Linked DNA regions of Homo sapiens: region 2 is linked to region 1. Evidence: promoter capture Hi-C in 16 types of primary human blood cells and fetal thymus (Javierre and others, 2016). All regions are on one chromosome and are shown on one strand. The core of a region is centred on a gene start or on the middle of the fragment in contact, and the rest is flanking DNA. Distances in the headings are between cores, read along the strand shown.

What was found. The method cuts DNA at HindIII sites, captures the fragments that hold promoters and counts their contacts. A CHiCAGO score of 5 or more calls a contact.
Region 2: the fragment with the promoter of PCDHGB4 here is called in contact with a fragment that was not itself captured in region 1 in 1 of 17 cell types (endothelial precursors); the score reaches 6.1 in endothelial precursors.

Annotation. Positions count from the first base shown.
Region 1 is chr5:141,083,637-141,091,042 of GRCh38, forward strand. It overlaps PCDHB@. Among named protein-coding and RNA genes, the nearest start is that of PCDHB2, 7.3 kb to the right of the region's middle. The HindIII fragment of the contact is 515 bases long and covers 2,250-2,764 here.
Region 2 is chr5:141,382,975-141,390,380 of GRCh38, forward strand. It overlaps PCDHGB4 (protocadherin gamma subfamily B, 4), which reads left to right and starts at 4,724. Exons shown (of 4, transcript NM_003736.4): 1 at 4,724-7,307. The coding sequence starts at 4,911. The region is part of intron 1 of PCDHGA1 (protocadherin gamma subfamily A, 1); the gene reads left to right. All of the region lies in intron 1 of PCDHGA2 (protocadherin gamma subfamily A, 2), which reads left to right. All of the region lies in intron 1 of PCDHGA3 (protocadherin gamma subfamily A, 3), which reads left to right. It also overlaps PCDHGB1, PCDHGA4, PCDHGB2, PCDHGA5, PCDHGB3 and PCDHGA6, and 2 more genes. The HindIII fragment of the contact is 3,088 bases long and covers 4,436-7,406 here.

The sequences.
Region 1 (7,406 bases), core at 1,257-3,756:
AGGCTGGAGTGTAGTGGCATGATCTCGGCTCACTGCAACCTCCATCTCCTGGGTTCAAGCAGTTCTCCTTCCTCAGCCTCCCAAGTAGCTGGGACTACAAGCATGAGCCACCATATGCAGCTGTTTTGTATTTTTAGTAGAGACGGGGTTTCACCATGTGGGCCAGGCTGGTTTCGAACTCCTGACCTCAAGTGATCTGTCCGCCTTGGCCTCCCAAAGTGCTGGGATTACAGGCGTGAGCCACCACGCCCGGCCCTATCCCTAGTCTTTTAGTTGTCATCCCTTGACACTTCATACAGGGCTCTGTGATGTTGACTGACTGAAAGACTGCAACCCCGCTATGGGCCACGATGTTCATTCACATCATTCGAGAAAAATCTTATTTCCTGCAAAATCAGAAATACTTCATCTGCAGTAGAAAATCATTTCAATGGGTTTGTGTTTAAGTTGGTACCATAAAATTAAACTTAGCTTAAACCTCACCTCCTCTGAGACTCTTCCTGATACCTCACTTCTGTTCTTAAATATCCCTTTTTAGTACCTGATAGTGCCTATGCAAATCACCGAGTCACCTTTTTAATATTCTAACCTCCTGCGGTGTAGGCACCAGACTTTACTCAACTTTATATCCCCAATGTCTTTTACAGTGCTTGAATATAATCTGTGTGTAAAAAATACCTGCGAAGAATTAATCAGTTCAATGAATTTATGGCCAAATGACTGGCTTGATTGAAATGAAAGAAATCCAATTCGGTTCCTCTCAAAGGAAATCTCACAGCTGATATTATGATAATAAACAACCATTGTTTTTGTTCACATTAAGTAAACTAAATATTGGAGAAGTAATTAAAACTCAAGAGGTGAGAATTCCGCCCCTAGATGTGAATATGAACAGATTTTGACAGTTTCCGCAGGAAAGCGCTGTACAGCCCAGGTTTTCAGTTCGGACGCCTGGTGGCACTACAGGCTAAAAAGTAGGAGGAGGAGGAGCCCTGCATTTGCCTGCAGACTCCATCTTAGAAAAGACAAAATCTGAAAGGTGCTGGGAACAGATACGAGTTGGAAAACGTCCGCAGCGAGCTCAGATTTTAGAGCTTTCTTCAAACGAATGGGGACTACACAAATGTTTGGAAGTCTTACAGGATTTCCGAAGACTTCATTTACTAAAGGCAATGCACTCAGAGGATATACAGGAAATTGTGCGAGAAAAAAATCTGGCAGAAAACGCAGGTGGTGGGTTTTCATTTTCTTCCCGGGTGTAGCGCAGGCGGCCCAGGAAAAGGAAAACTGCTTTTTTATGGTCAGGGTTTCTGGAGATTGGCGCTGGCGGCGGAAAGGGGAGCGGCGGGAGGACAGACTGGAGCAGGATAGTTTCCAAAGAGACCAAATAATATTTCAGATCGACCCACAGAAGAGTCCTTGCTCTCAAGTAGAAAATCGGACCTATAGGAGCCCTGCATTTCCAAGAATTACCTGTATTTAAAAAAAAAAAAAATTTGTCTTTTGAGAAAAATCTGTGTCTGAGGTGTAACCGTTTCCTCCTTTGAAAAATTCTTCTGAATGTTCCAGAATGTGCACCAGGAACATGTATGAGGTTTGGGTAAATTTTCCATCATTGGAAACTACACACTCATTTTCAATTTCCATGTTCACAATAATGTGCTGTGCAATATTGGGGTAAGTAATTTGTCCATACGCGTGAAAAAAATCGCTGGATGAACCACAGCCCAAGGTAAGTTTAACTCTCCCAGAGAAGAATGGTAGATATCTGAGACCTCCTAAGTCCAAGTCATGACAATCAATGACAATCTTTGAGATGCAGGTCTCACAGCAACCGGCTGAAGATTTAGTCTGAGTAAATAATTATGAATCGGCTCTCAGAATTCTCCAGGCTCACTGAATTCTGCAACCTCTGGAGAGCATTTTAAATGCTAGCAGAACATTTTAAATACCACTGATACCCCATGCATCATAAGCATCCACTGCAAGAGAATTACCAGGAAATTTCAGTGCCACGTGGCAAATACTCAGGCAATTACAAGCAGAAATAGTTTCAGAAATTGTTTCTTCATGTGAAGGACGGTGGAAGACCATGCCATTGGATGACAATCACATAGAATTGGTCATGTTGACACTTATCTGCCTCATCCTGGAGCACTTCTGGGAAGACTTCATCTGTTTAAGAACCATAATCTCAGCACCCTGAGATAAAACAACAACAACAACAAAAACAAAACAAAACAAGAAAAAGCTTTGATCCTTCCTACCAGAGTTTTCTTTTCATTGGATATTTAAAATATTCCATAATCTGACAACCTAATAATGCAAACCAGAAAAGAGAGCTACACGCAACATCACTGTATTTCCAATGAAATTAGGTTCCAGGAAGCTCAAAACAAGACAGTAGGTAGAGACAGCTATCATCCTTGGCGTTCTTCCTTTTGGATTCTGGATAAAAGGTAGAGGAATAACAGCACCGTTCTGAATGTTTTGGTTATTTTATGGCTCTAATTTCCATCGTGTTTTTTTTCTGAAGCATAGCTAATTGTTCATTAACAGTTAACAGATATTGATGGCTTAGCTATTTTTATCTTTTTATCTATTTCACAAAGGTCTATTTAGAATCTAGTAGTGTATTTCCTCTTTATTGTTAAGCACAGAAAAGGAACGCATTTTTTTCTGCTCATGCCTAGTTTCCTTTGATCTTTCTCAAAGGTAAATTACCCCTAAAACTTTGAGTAGACTGTCCTAGCAGATATTCTGAAGCTTGACAAGGAAATTCATCCCACTTCAATCCATAAAATGATAGTCTTCGTAACTTCTCAAAGAAGGTCAAGCTATTTATTTTAAAGTCATCTTTTGCTTTTCTTGATATTTCGTAAATGATGGCTGACAAGTTGTGATAGTCTACTTTTCAGCAGGACTGGTCTCCATTTACTTAGTTTAAGTAACTATTTACTTGATTACTATTATTAATATATGGTTTTAACTTTTTATTTGAAATAGTCATTTGATGATTTTGGTGATATTGATGACCACGAAATCAAATGGAGATATACAACTACAAGAAAAAAAACTGTAGAAATAAATGTCTTTTTCGTTATTTAAGACGTAAATCAACTGAGTTGCTGTGTAGCTTATTTATGTCAATGTTAAATTTGTGTTTGTTAATTTTTACTGTTTCCTTATTAAACATCAAAAATGATTAATTCTTTGGCAATTAATATCATAGCATATCCAGTACATTAAATGTCATGTAAAACAGACCGACAAAACAATCTTATCTTTTTTTTCTTTATGTCAGTGTTTAATACTCTCCTGTATGGCTTAGGAAAATTAAAGAAGATACAACAGAATATGCCTCAAATAAGACCTATTTGTTGATATTTAATATATTTATGATAGTTGCTGATAAAATGAAAACAGACATTATTCAATACACTGGATAATAATTACATAAATACAAAGTGTTTGGTGTTTTCATTTGCCTTTCTCAAATACTTTTTTTCTTTCTAGAGAGTTTAATGCACTGACGGGGGGTGGGGGGCGGTCCTATAATGGCACTGCAGGCTCAAATGGTGGTTAAAGCAGATTGCAAATACAGTGCTGTATGTTTCATATTATATTACCCTGTCTGTGAAAGTTGTATTGGATGTCTAAGATTCTGGTGGCATAAGTAATAGAAACATTAGGGTGATCAGAGTTTGTGTAGGACCATATTTGCTGGAAGGTGTTAGAAGAAGGAATAATGTAATACTTAAAGCCCAGTCTAAAACAAAGTGTGATTCTGTTTTACTAAGCATGTACCATTCAGGATACTGAACTGCAGAATTCTGTTCCAGAGGTGCTGGAGAGTGGTTCCTTCATTGCTAATTTTGCAGAGATTTTGGGCCTTAGGATGGGGAACTTGAGAGGTATGGGGAGCGAGAGGGTAATTCATGTTTCTATAGATTTAAAAAACTGCATTTTCAAATCAAAAGACTCAGGAGTGGGTACTAAATAGAAATTGGATCCATCTGTGAGTCTCAAAGCACCTTGGAAAAATGTAACTCATTTGAGTTACTCATTTGCCTTGAGAAAGGTAACTTGGAAAAATGAGTTACATTTTTACAAGGTGCCTTGGACTCACAGATATAGCCATTCACTAGTGTGTATTACTGGATCTAGGAATGCTGCAAAAAATCAAGGAGAGCATCTTGTAGAGACCATATAGATGGCAGAACATGTAGACAGAGCAGTATTCATAAGTATATTTTGAATCCTAATTCCCATGTCTTCTCTTCTGTTTGCTTAGAGAATGGTGGCAGAAAATATCCTGAATGAGGATGGGCAATTTTCTCAGTGGAAAGAAATGGGTTGAGGTTAATTTAACTATCATGATATTGGATGGTGGGTCCCCACATAGATCCAAATCTGCATTGGTCTTCACCAAAGTTGTGGGTTATCAGTGATTTTACTCAGCTGTAATATATAGTAGTTCAGTACAGTAATCCCAGAAAAAAAGTTTTTCCTCCCTGGCTATCACTTTTCTATCAGGAATTTGGATACAAGGTATAATATAAAACTATCTTTAAGGTTTTACCGGGCTACTGAAGACTTAATGAAAACTTTAATAAAGCATTTACATTGGTATAAAAGTACCAAAAGCAAACCCATCACTCAAACCCGTAAATTCCAAGGCTATACTAATCTACAGTGTGGATTCTGAGATCATCAATAATTAAAGACTCTAGAAAATGTAACTTCTTGCTGTAAAAGACAGTCCACTCCTAATCATCATGTCATCATTTATGAACTAGGTCCCAAGGAGCCATATCTGCTTTAAGACCATATCTGCTGTTTCCTGTGTTTCAGATCCAGATCACAGAAAAAAAAATAGATATTTGGGCTTCATAATACCACCTTCCCTTCACCCTAAAGCCTTCAATAGAGGTAGATTAAAGACAAGTACAATTCTATGATTACTGCCAGAGATCTGGAGTTACTGTAAGCTGAAAGGAAACAATATAACCAGGTCTTCATTTTCACCAAACTGCCTCTGCACTTATCAAGTATGAAAACACAGCCCTAGAGTGTGCATTTTAGCAGCACACTGCCATAAACAGAGACTTAGAAAAACACCCAAGTAACTTATTTGCTTCTGGTTTCCCAGGATGTGCAGTACTCCATGACAGTGGACACAAAGAATCTGTTTGTAAGGCCCATAAGAGTCAAGTTCTGTATGAGAGAAACAGACACTACTACTACCATGAGCTAGCAGCATGGTGTTGGTGTGGTTGGTAATATTTGATGGCAATGGCAATTCTCCTTTGTGTTATATTTAATGCAGAACGGATTATGTGATGTTCAAGGTGGTGGCAGTAGAAGGAGACTAGGTCTGGAAGGTCTTCATGTCCTATCAGTTACTCAAAGACTTGAGTCTCCATCTGTATAGCGTGTTAGCCCAACACTGGGAAGTGTGCACACTAGGTTTGTGAGTGATGGTAATCTAGCCAATCATAGACTTCAGGTTATGGTCAAGGACACTGAGATGCCACCTATGTATTCCAGATTCAGACAACAACTGCTGCTGGTCAGCTGTTTCTTTCAGCTCTACTGGCTACATCTTGACAGACCTCAGGAATATGGGGTCTGTCACTTAGATTCCTCACTTAGCATATACTATGGTTTTAGTATTCCTTTGTTTTCTTGTTGGCCTGCTTCTTTACACAGTAGATGTTCAAATAATTACTGTGATATGAAAATATGTTATAATTTTCAAGTATTTCCTTATATTTCTTTAGCATATCTAAATTGATTATTTATGCTTTGTATTTTGTAGTCAGAGTTTCAGGTTTCTTCCCCTCACCCCGTATTCTTTGCCCTCTCTACACCTTTGGATTTCTTCATTATTTACTAATTTTCGATATTGTATTTAGCCATATTATTTTCTTTTCTTTTTTTTTTTTTTTGAGATGGAGTCTCGCTCTGTTGCCCAGGCTGGAGTGCAGTGGCGCCATCTCAGCTCACTGCAAGCTCTGCCTCCCGGGTTCACGCCATTCTCCTGCCTCAGCCTCCCGAGTAGCTGGGACTCCAGGCGCCTGCCACCATGCCCAGCTAATTTTTTGTATTTTTAGTAGAGACAGGGTTTCACCGTGTTAGCTAGGATGGTCTCGATCTCCTGACCTCGTGATCCACCTGCCTTGGCCTCCCAAAGTGCTGGGATTACAGGCATAAGCCACAGCACCCAGTCCATATTTTCTTTTAAAGTAAAATTTCAATAGTGATCTTAGTGAAAATTCAATCATCTACCAGATTACCTAAACCTGATTTAAGTTTTAACCTATTTTAATCATAAAAAAAAGTCTGAGATTTTTGGAAGAGGTCATACCTCTGTCTCTCTCATCTCTATTTCCATCTATATCTGTCTATCTAGCTTTATCTGCAGTCCTGGTCAAGATTTTTATTTTCAAGGGGACAGATTGTCCTAATAGACTCTGATGGTTCTCCTTAAACAAAATTGGGCAAGATTCTTGTGCAGGTATCATTTTAAAAACCTTTTCTTGCTTATTTGTACTGTGGGAAGAGAATAAACAACACCATTTCCCCTTTTTGAGTTATATTTATTTCTTGTTTCATTTGCTTGTTTGTTTGTTGTTGTTGTTGTTGTTTGAGACAGGGTGTCGCTCTGTCTCCCAAGCTGGAGTGCAGTGGTGTGATCTCGGCTTACTGCAACCTCTGCCTCCAGGGCACAAGTGACGCTAACACCCCAGCCCCCTATGTAGCTGGGACTATGGGCGTGAGCCACCACACCTGGCTGATTTTTTTTTTTTTTTTTTGGTAGACATGGGGCTTTGCCACATTGCAGGCTGGTCTTCAAAACTCCTGGACTCAAGCAATCCACCCATCTTGGACTCCCAAAGTGCTGGGATTACAGGTGTGAGCCACCACGTGTAGCCGACCTTTATTTTGAAATCTTGTTTGCTTGAGCTTCATGAAATGTATGTCTTGATAGATTATGGGGAAACTTATTTGTATCCTCAATAAGGTAAAAGTAAATTAGTTGAATATGCCCCCAATTTTCACACTAGATTAGGGTAATAAACTATGCCAGAACACTCCCTTCTTGTCCTAGAATATTTCTCTTATATTTTCTGCAGAATCTTAGTGTTAGATCACTGAAAACCCCTCCTTCTTCTGCCATCTTATGGCTGAGTAAGTAAAGCCAGCTTGTGGGCAGAAGGCATTGAAAGGCTGAAGATCCCTCTCTATTGAAAGAGGGATACTAGTGGGGATAATATCTCCATATCATTTGGCATTATCTTTGATAGGAAAATGGTCATGTAAATCCCTTTGACTACCCTTTCTCCTAATTCTTGTAATTTTCATCTCATGGCAGTCAAAAGATCAAATCACCCTTTAGTCCA
Region 2 (7,406 bases), core at 3,474-5,973, 300 kb after region 1:
GCCTGGGCAGGACGTATTCTCTACTCCGTGTCGGAGGAGACGGACAAAGGGTCCTTTGTGGGAGACATCGCCAAGGACCTGGGGCTGGAGCCCCGGGAGCTGGCGGAGCGCGGAGTCCGCATCATCTCCAGAGGTAGGACGCAGCTTTTCGCCCTGAACCAGCGCAGCGGCAGCTTGGTCACTGCGGGCAGGATAGACCGGGAAGAGATCTGCGCTCAGAGTGCGCGGTGTCTGGTAAACTTTAACATCCTGATGGAAGATAAAATGAATCTTTACCCTATAGACGTGGAAATAATAGATATTAATGACAACGTTCCAAGATTCTTGACGGAAGAAATAAATGTAAAAATAATGGAGAATACAGCTCCTGGGGTTCGGTTTCCGTTAAGCGAGGCTGGGGATCCAGATGTGGGCACGAACTCCCTCCAGAGTTACCAGCTCAGCCCCAATCGCCACTTCTCCCTGGCTGTGCAAAGTGGAGACGATGAAACTAAGTACCCGGAACTGGTGCTGGAGCGGGTGCTGGACCGGGAGGAAGAGCGGGTTCACCACCTGGTCCTCACAGCCTCTGATGGCGGCGACCCGCCCCGATCCAGCACCGCCCACATCCAGGTGACAGTGGTGGATGTGAATGACCACACGCCTGTCTTCTCTCTGCCTCAGTACCAAGTAACTGTCCCCGAGAATGTGCCAGTGGGTACAAGACTGCTCACGGTACATGCTATCGACCTGGACGAGGGAGTCAATGGGGAAGTGACATATTCTTTTCGGAAAATAACTCCTAAACTTCCAAAGATGTTTCATCTGAACTCGCTTACAGGAGAAATATCAACTTTAGAAGGATTAGATTATGAAGAAACTGCCTTCTATGAAATGGAGGTTCAGGCTCAAGATGGTCCTGGTAGTCTGACAAAGGCAAAAGTACTGATCACAGTTTTAGATGTAAATGATAATGCTCCAGAAGTGACTATGACGTCTTTAAGTAGCTCAATCCCTGAAGACACACCTCTTGGGACAGTCATTGCTCTTTTCTACCTACAAGACAGAGATTCTGGAAAGAATGGTGAGGTGACCTGCACCATTCCAGAAAACCTACCTTTTAAATTAGAAAAATCAATAGATAATTATTATAGATTGGTCACAACCAAAAACTTGGACCGGGAAACACTCTCTTTGTATAACATCACACTGAAAGCCACAGATGGTGGAACTCCTCCCTTGTCCAGGGAAACTCACATATTCATGCAGGTGGCAGACACCAACGATAACCCACCCACCTTCCCCCACTCATCCTACTCAGTCTACATCGCTGAGAACAACCCCAGAGGGGCCTCCATTTTCTTAGTGACTGCACAGGACCACGACAGTGAGGATAATGCCCAGATCACTTATTCCTTGGCCGAAGACACCATCCAGGGGGCTCCAGTGTCCTCCTATGTCTCCATAAACTCTGACACTGGAGTCCTGTACGCGCTGCAATCCTTTGATTATGAGCAGTTGAGAGAACTACAACTAAGAGTGACTGCACATGACAGCGGGGACCCGCCTCTCAGCAGCAACATGTCACTGAGCCTGTTCGTGCTGGACCAGAATGACAACCCGCCCGAGATCCTGTACCCGGCCCTCCCCACAGATGGTTCTACTGGCATGGAGCTGGCACCCCGCTCCGCAGAGCCCGGCTACCTGGTGACCAAGGTGGTGGCGGTGGACAAAGATTCAGGCCAGAACGCCTGGCTGTCATACCTCCTGCTTAAGGCCAGCGAGCCAGGACTCTTTGCGGTTGGGCTGTACACGGGCGAGGTGCGCACGGCTCGGGCCCTGCTGGACAGAGATGCCCTCAAGCAGAGCCTCGTGGTGGCCGTCCAGGACCACGGTCAGCCTCCTCTGTCAGCCACCGTCACACTCACCGTGGCTGTGGCTGACAGCATCCCCGAAGTCTTGGCCGACCTGGGCAGCCTTGAGCCCTCCGACGGTCCTTACAACTATGACCTCACGTTGTACCTGGTGGTGGCGGTGGCCACAGTCTCCTGCGTCTTCCTAGCCTTCGTCCTCGTACTGCTGGCGCTCAGGCTGCGGCGCTGGCACAAGTCACGCCTGCTGCAGGCTTCAGAAGGTGGCTTGGCGAACGTGCCCACCTCGCACTTTGTGGGCATGGACGGGGTGCAGGCTTTCCTGCAGACCTATTCCCATGAGGTCTCCCTCACCGCGGACTCTCGGAAGAGTCACCTGATCTTCCCCCAGCCCAACTATGTAGACATGCTCATCAGCCAGGAGAGCTGTGAGAAAAATGATTCTTTGCTAACATCCGTAGATTTTCAGGAATGTAAAGAAAACCTGCCAAGTATTCAGGTGAGCCCAGCCCTTCCTTTATTTCCATGAGGAATTTATTTGCATGATATTTCTCTATTATTTTGCAAAACAAATGTTTTGAAAATAGGGATTTAAAAAACTTTATAGAGGTAAAAATGAGTTTACCAGTTTCCTTCAGTGGTGACACTTTAATATAGAACACATAGGATATAGTATTTCTTTAGTGAAAGCCTATGGACAAGATTATGAATATGTGGACTATCACATTTTATAATTTCCACCTACTTTCCAATCTATGTTCCAACCTACTTTCTTAACTCATATATTTTATACATTGGAATGAATCGAGTCTTTCATATTGCACAAGGTTAGCAGGAATAAAACACACCTCAGCTGTCTTCTCAGGATTCTCTTTAGCATTCAAATATGTAAAAGGTTCTGAAAGATTTCTTCCATGTGAAGATTTTTTTCTGTGGCTGATTCTGCCTCCATGTACCTCAGCTTGGTGGTCCTAAAAAATCTTGATTGCTTCTTGACCTATTTACAGTATAATCATTTATTAATGGGGTGGTAGTAGAAGGTTGGATTTATGCCTAAAGAATGAAATGTGTGTGTATCACACTTCACTAAGATCTATATCAAAGACAGACATCAAGTCTAATGCCACACTAAAGGCCATCGGACAAAACCAATAAAATATGTCAAATAAAATGTCATTTTAAGTGTTGTAATTGGCATTTGTGACATAGGCAATTACATGTTTTAACAGAGAATTCCAGTATGTTGTTTTAGTGGTACAGCCAGATGAAGTGTGTCTGTGGGCTATCAAAGTGGGAGATTGGGGATACTGGCTTTGTTTCAACTGTCTCACGTACTCAAACCTTAGACCATCTTATGTACACAGATCCTAGACCAGTAGTTGATTTTATTTATTAGGTCTACTGAAAAATTCAGTTGGAAATAACCCAATCTGGGATTAACTACTTCCATATTCTTTTGTATAACATTTTAGTAAAGCTCAGTATATCAAGTGATTGTCATCCAGAAGGGGTGGATGACAAGGTAATCTTGATTCCAGAGACCTTTGAGTATTAATTAAAAACACACTTTTAGCCAGGTATGGTGTTGCAAGCTGTAGCCCACCTGCATGGGAGGCTGAGGCAAGAGGACAGCTTGAACCCAAGAATTGGAGGCCCACCTAGATAATATAACAAGACTCTGTCTCTTCAAAAAAAGACTCTTTTTAGACTAGTGTTGTATTTGGTAGTATTTTGCACATGATAGACTCTGTACAATAGTGTGGGGGATACATTTTTTTTTTTTGACATGGAGTCTCGCTCTGTCACCCAGGCTGGATACATTTTACAAGTTCTGCAGTGTTCACATTTCAGATGTACAATCACTTGGGGTAGAAGACAATGTTGCTGACACCAACAATGTTACTGAGGGAAGATCCTATGGCAGAACTACGGTTATAAGGTATTTTGTAAAAGAAAATCTCCTGACCAAAATTTATTAGATGCATAAAATTGTTTTTAAGCAATGGAGAGACATAATCACTAAACTCAGTGAGCTATTGCAATCAAACTTTCCAGGGATTGTTTCCTTCAATTCAGAGGTCACCAAGGAATGTAAAATAAGTGCAGAGGTAGGAAGCAGTGCTTCAGTGCAGCAGATCTCAGTGACTTTGTGTTTTGAGGCTATGTATTATCCCCCTGATAACTTTGAAGATGAATGTTGTATTTCATAACCAGTAAAATAATTGTGTAATGAGGAGAGGAGTAGGCTACTGCCTGTGATCATCGAAATGAGAATCACATAATATTCCTGTAATGAAATCACTGAAACTATTGGGAAGGGGGTGTATTTGAAGATAAGTATAAATTGCACCTTCTAAAAGGCAATTTTGGTATTACTGATACTCTCCGGAAAAAGTTGAAATAAATCAACTTGGAGGTACTTAGAAAAGTGGAGAAAATGTTAGGAACAATGAAAGAAAGATAAAATGTATCCAGTATATTTCTAATGAGTAAGTATGGAAAATTACTGTACTCTGAGACGGTTTAGGCCAAGTCTGTGTTATGGCTATCTTTATATAGATAGTGCATGTTTGAAGATTGGGGAAAGCTTATGTCAATAAATGTTTATGTACTTAATCTACATGATTTGCCTAAAAATCCTCAAAGTTGGGATGAAGGCATTCCTAAGAGTACATTTTTAGACGTCATTAAATATACAGACGTATCCACGTAGTTTTTGTTCTTTCAGTTAGGCACACAATTATAATTATTGCACTGGTTAACTTGAAGCAGCAGAGGCTGTAGTTTCCTAGTGCTGACTCTGGGCGCCGCTGTTGGCCAAAGTGGAGAGCTTGGCGCTCCAGATCTCCTCGCGCAGCCGCAGCGCGCTTTCCAGGGCAGCCCCAGCTCAGACTCCCCAGCGCCAGCCTTTACACCGCTTCCTCCTCGGAAAAAGAAGAATTTTTTCTTGAACTGGAACTGCAACTAAAGTCCGTTCGGAGATCCAAAAATCTGCAATACAGAGGTTATTTGTAACCCGGCGTCTCCAGGCTGGTGAGCAAGCTGAGGAGAGCAAGAGGGATGGGGAGCGGCGCCGGGGAGCTGGGCCGGGCTGAGAGGCTGCCAGTGCTCTTTCTCTTCCTGCTGTCTTTGTTCTGCCCGGCGCTCTGTGAGCAGATCCGCTACAGGATTCCCGAGGAAATGCCCAAGGGCTCCGTAGTGGGGAACCTCGCCACGGACCTGGGGTTCAGCGTCCAGGAGTTACCGACTCGAAAACTGCGCGTCAGTTCGGAGAAGCCTTACTTCACCGTGAGCGCAGAGAGCGGGGAGTTGCTTGTGAGCAGCAGGCTAGACAGGGAGGAGATATGCGGGAAGAAGCCAGCTTGTGCTCTGGAATTTGAGGCTGTTGCTGAAAATCCACTGAACTTTTATCACGTGAATGTGGAGATCGAGGACATTAATGACCACACGCCAAAATTCACGCAAAATTCCTTTGAGCTGCAAATAAGTGAGTCTGCACAGCCTGGCACACGATTTATATTAGGATCTGCCCATGATGCGGATATTGGTAGCAACACACTGCAGAATTACCAACTCAGTCCCAGTGATCATTTCTCACTGATAAATAAAGAGAAATCAGATGGCAGTAAATACCCTGAGATGGTATTGAAGACACCTTTGGACAGAGAAAAGCAGAAATCCTACCACTTGACTTTGACTGCCTTGGACTTTGGAGCTCCACCCCTAAGCAGCACTGCACAGATACACGTTCTAGTGACTGATGCCAATGATAATGCTCCAGTGTTCAGTCAAGACGTATACAGGGTGAGCCTTTCAGAAAACGTGTACCCGGGGACCACGGTGCTACAGGTGACTGCCACGGACCAGGATGAGGGTGTCAATGCCGAGATTACTTTCTCTTTCAGTGAAGCTAGCCAGATCACCCAATTTGACCTGAACTCTAACACCGGGGAAATTACTGTTTTAAATACATTAGATTTTGAAGAAGTCAAAGAATATTCCATAGTTTTGGAAGCAAGGGACGGTGGAGGAATGATTGCGCAATGCACAGTGGAGGTAGAAGTCATAGATGAAAATGACAACGCCCCAGAAGTGATATTCCAGTCTCTACCCAACCTAATTATGGAGGACGCCGAGCTGGGAACACATATTGCTTTGCTCAAAGTCCGTGACAAGGATTCCAGACACAATGGAGAAGTGACTTGTAAATTGGAAGGTGATGTTCCATTTAAAATATTAACTTCTTCAAGAAACACGTATAAATTAGTGACAGATGCTGTTCTAGACCGCGAGCAGAATCCAGAGTACAATATAACCGTTACGGCAACAGATCGGGGCAAGCCTCCCCTCTCCTCCAGTTCCAGCATCACCCTGCACATTGGTGATGTAAATGACAACGCTCCGGTTTTCTCACAGTCTTCCTATATAGTCCACGTGGCCGAGAACAACCCGCCTGGAGCCTCTATTTCACAAGTCAGGGCTTCTGATCCGGACTTGGGGCCCAACGGCCAAGTCTCTTACTGCATCATGGCCAGTGACCTGGAGCAGCGGGAGCTGTCATCCTACGTGTCCATAAGCGCGGAGAGCGGGGTGGTGTTCGCGCAGCGCGCCTTCGACCACGAGCAGCTGCGCGCCTTCGAACTCACACTGCAGGCCCGCGACCAGGGCTCGCCAGCGCTCAGCGCGAACGTGAGCCTGCGCGTGTTAGTGGACGACCGCAACGACAATGCGCCACGGGTGCTGTACCCCGCGCTGGGTCCCGACGGCTCTGCGCTCTTCGATATGGTGCCGCACGCTGCAGAGCCTGGCTACTTGGTGACCAAGGTAGTGGCGGTGGACGCAGACTCAGGACACAACGCCTGGCTGTCCTACCACGTGCTGCAGGCTAGCGAGCCCGGGCTCTTCAGCCTGGGGCTGCGCACGGGCGAAGTGCGCACAGCGCGTGCCTTAGGCGACAGGGACGCCGTCCGCCAGCGCCTTCTGGTCGCCGTGCGTGACGGTGGACAGCCACCACTCTCGGCCACTGCCACGTTGCACCTGGTCTTCGCCGACAGCTTGCAGGAGGTGCTGCCGGATATCACTGACCGCCCCGACCCCTCTGACCTCCAGGCTGAGCTGCAGTTTTACCTAGTGGTGGCCTTGGCCTTGATCTCAGTGCTCTTCCTCGTGGCCATGATTCTGGCCATTGCCTTGCGCCTGCGACGCTCCTCCAGCCCCGCCTCCTGGAGCTGCTTCCAGCCTGGTCTCTGTGTTAAATCCGAATCCGTGGTTCCCCCCAACTACAGCGAGGGGACTTTGCCTTATTCCTACAATCTATGTGTTGCACATACAGGAAAGACGGAGTTTAATTTCCTAAAATGTAGTGAGCAGTTGAGTTCAGGACAAGACATACTTTGCGGTGATTCATCTGGGGCCTTATTTCCACTTTGTAATTCCAGTGAATTGACTTCCCATCAGGTGAGTTTCCTTTAAGTATAATTTAATGCTCATTGCCTACCCATTTCTCCATATTCACAAGAAAATATACATATTTGCAGGAAAATATATAATTTTTAG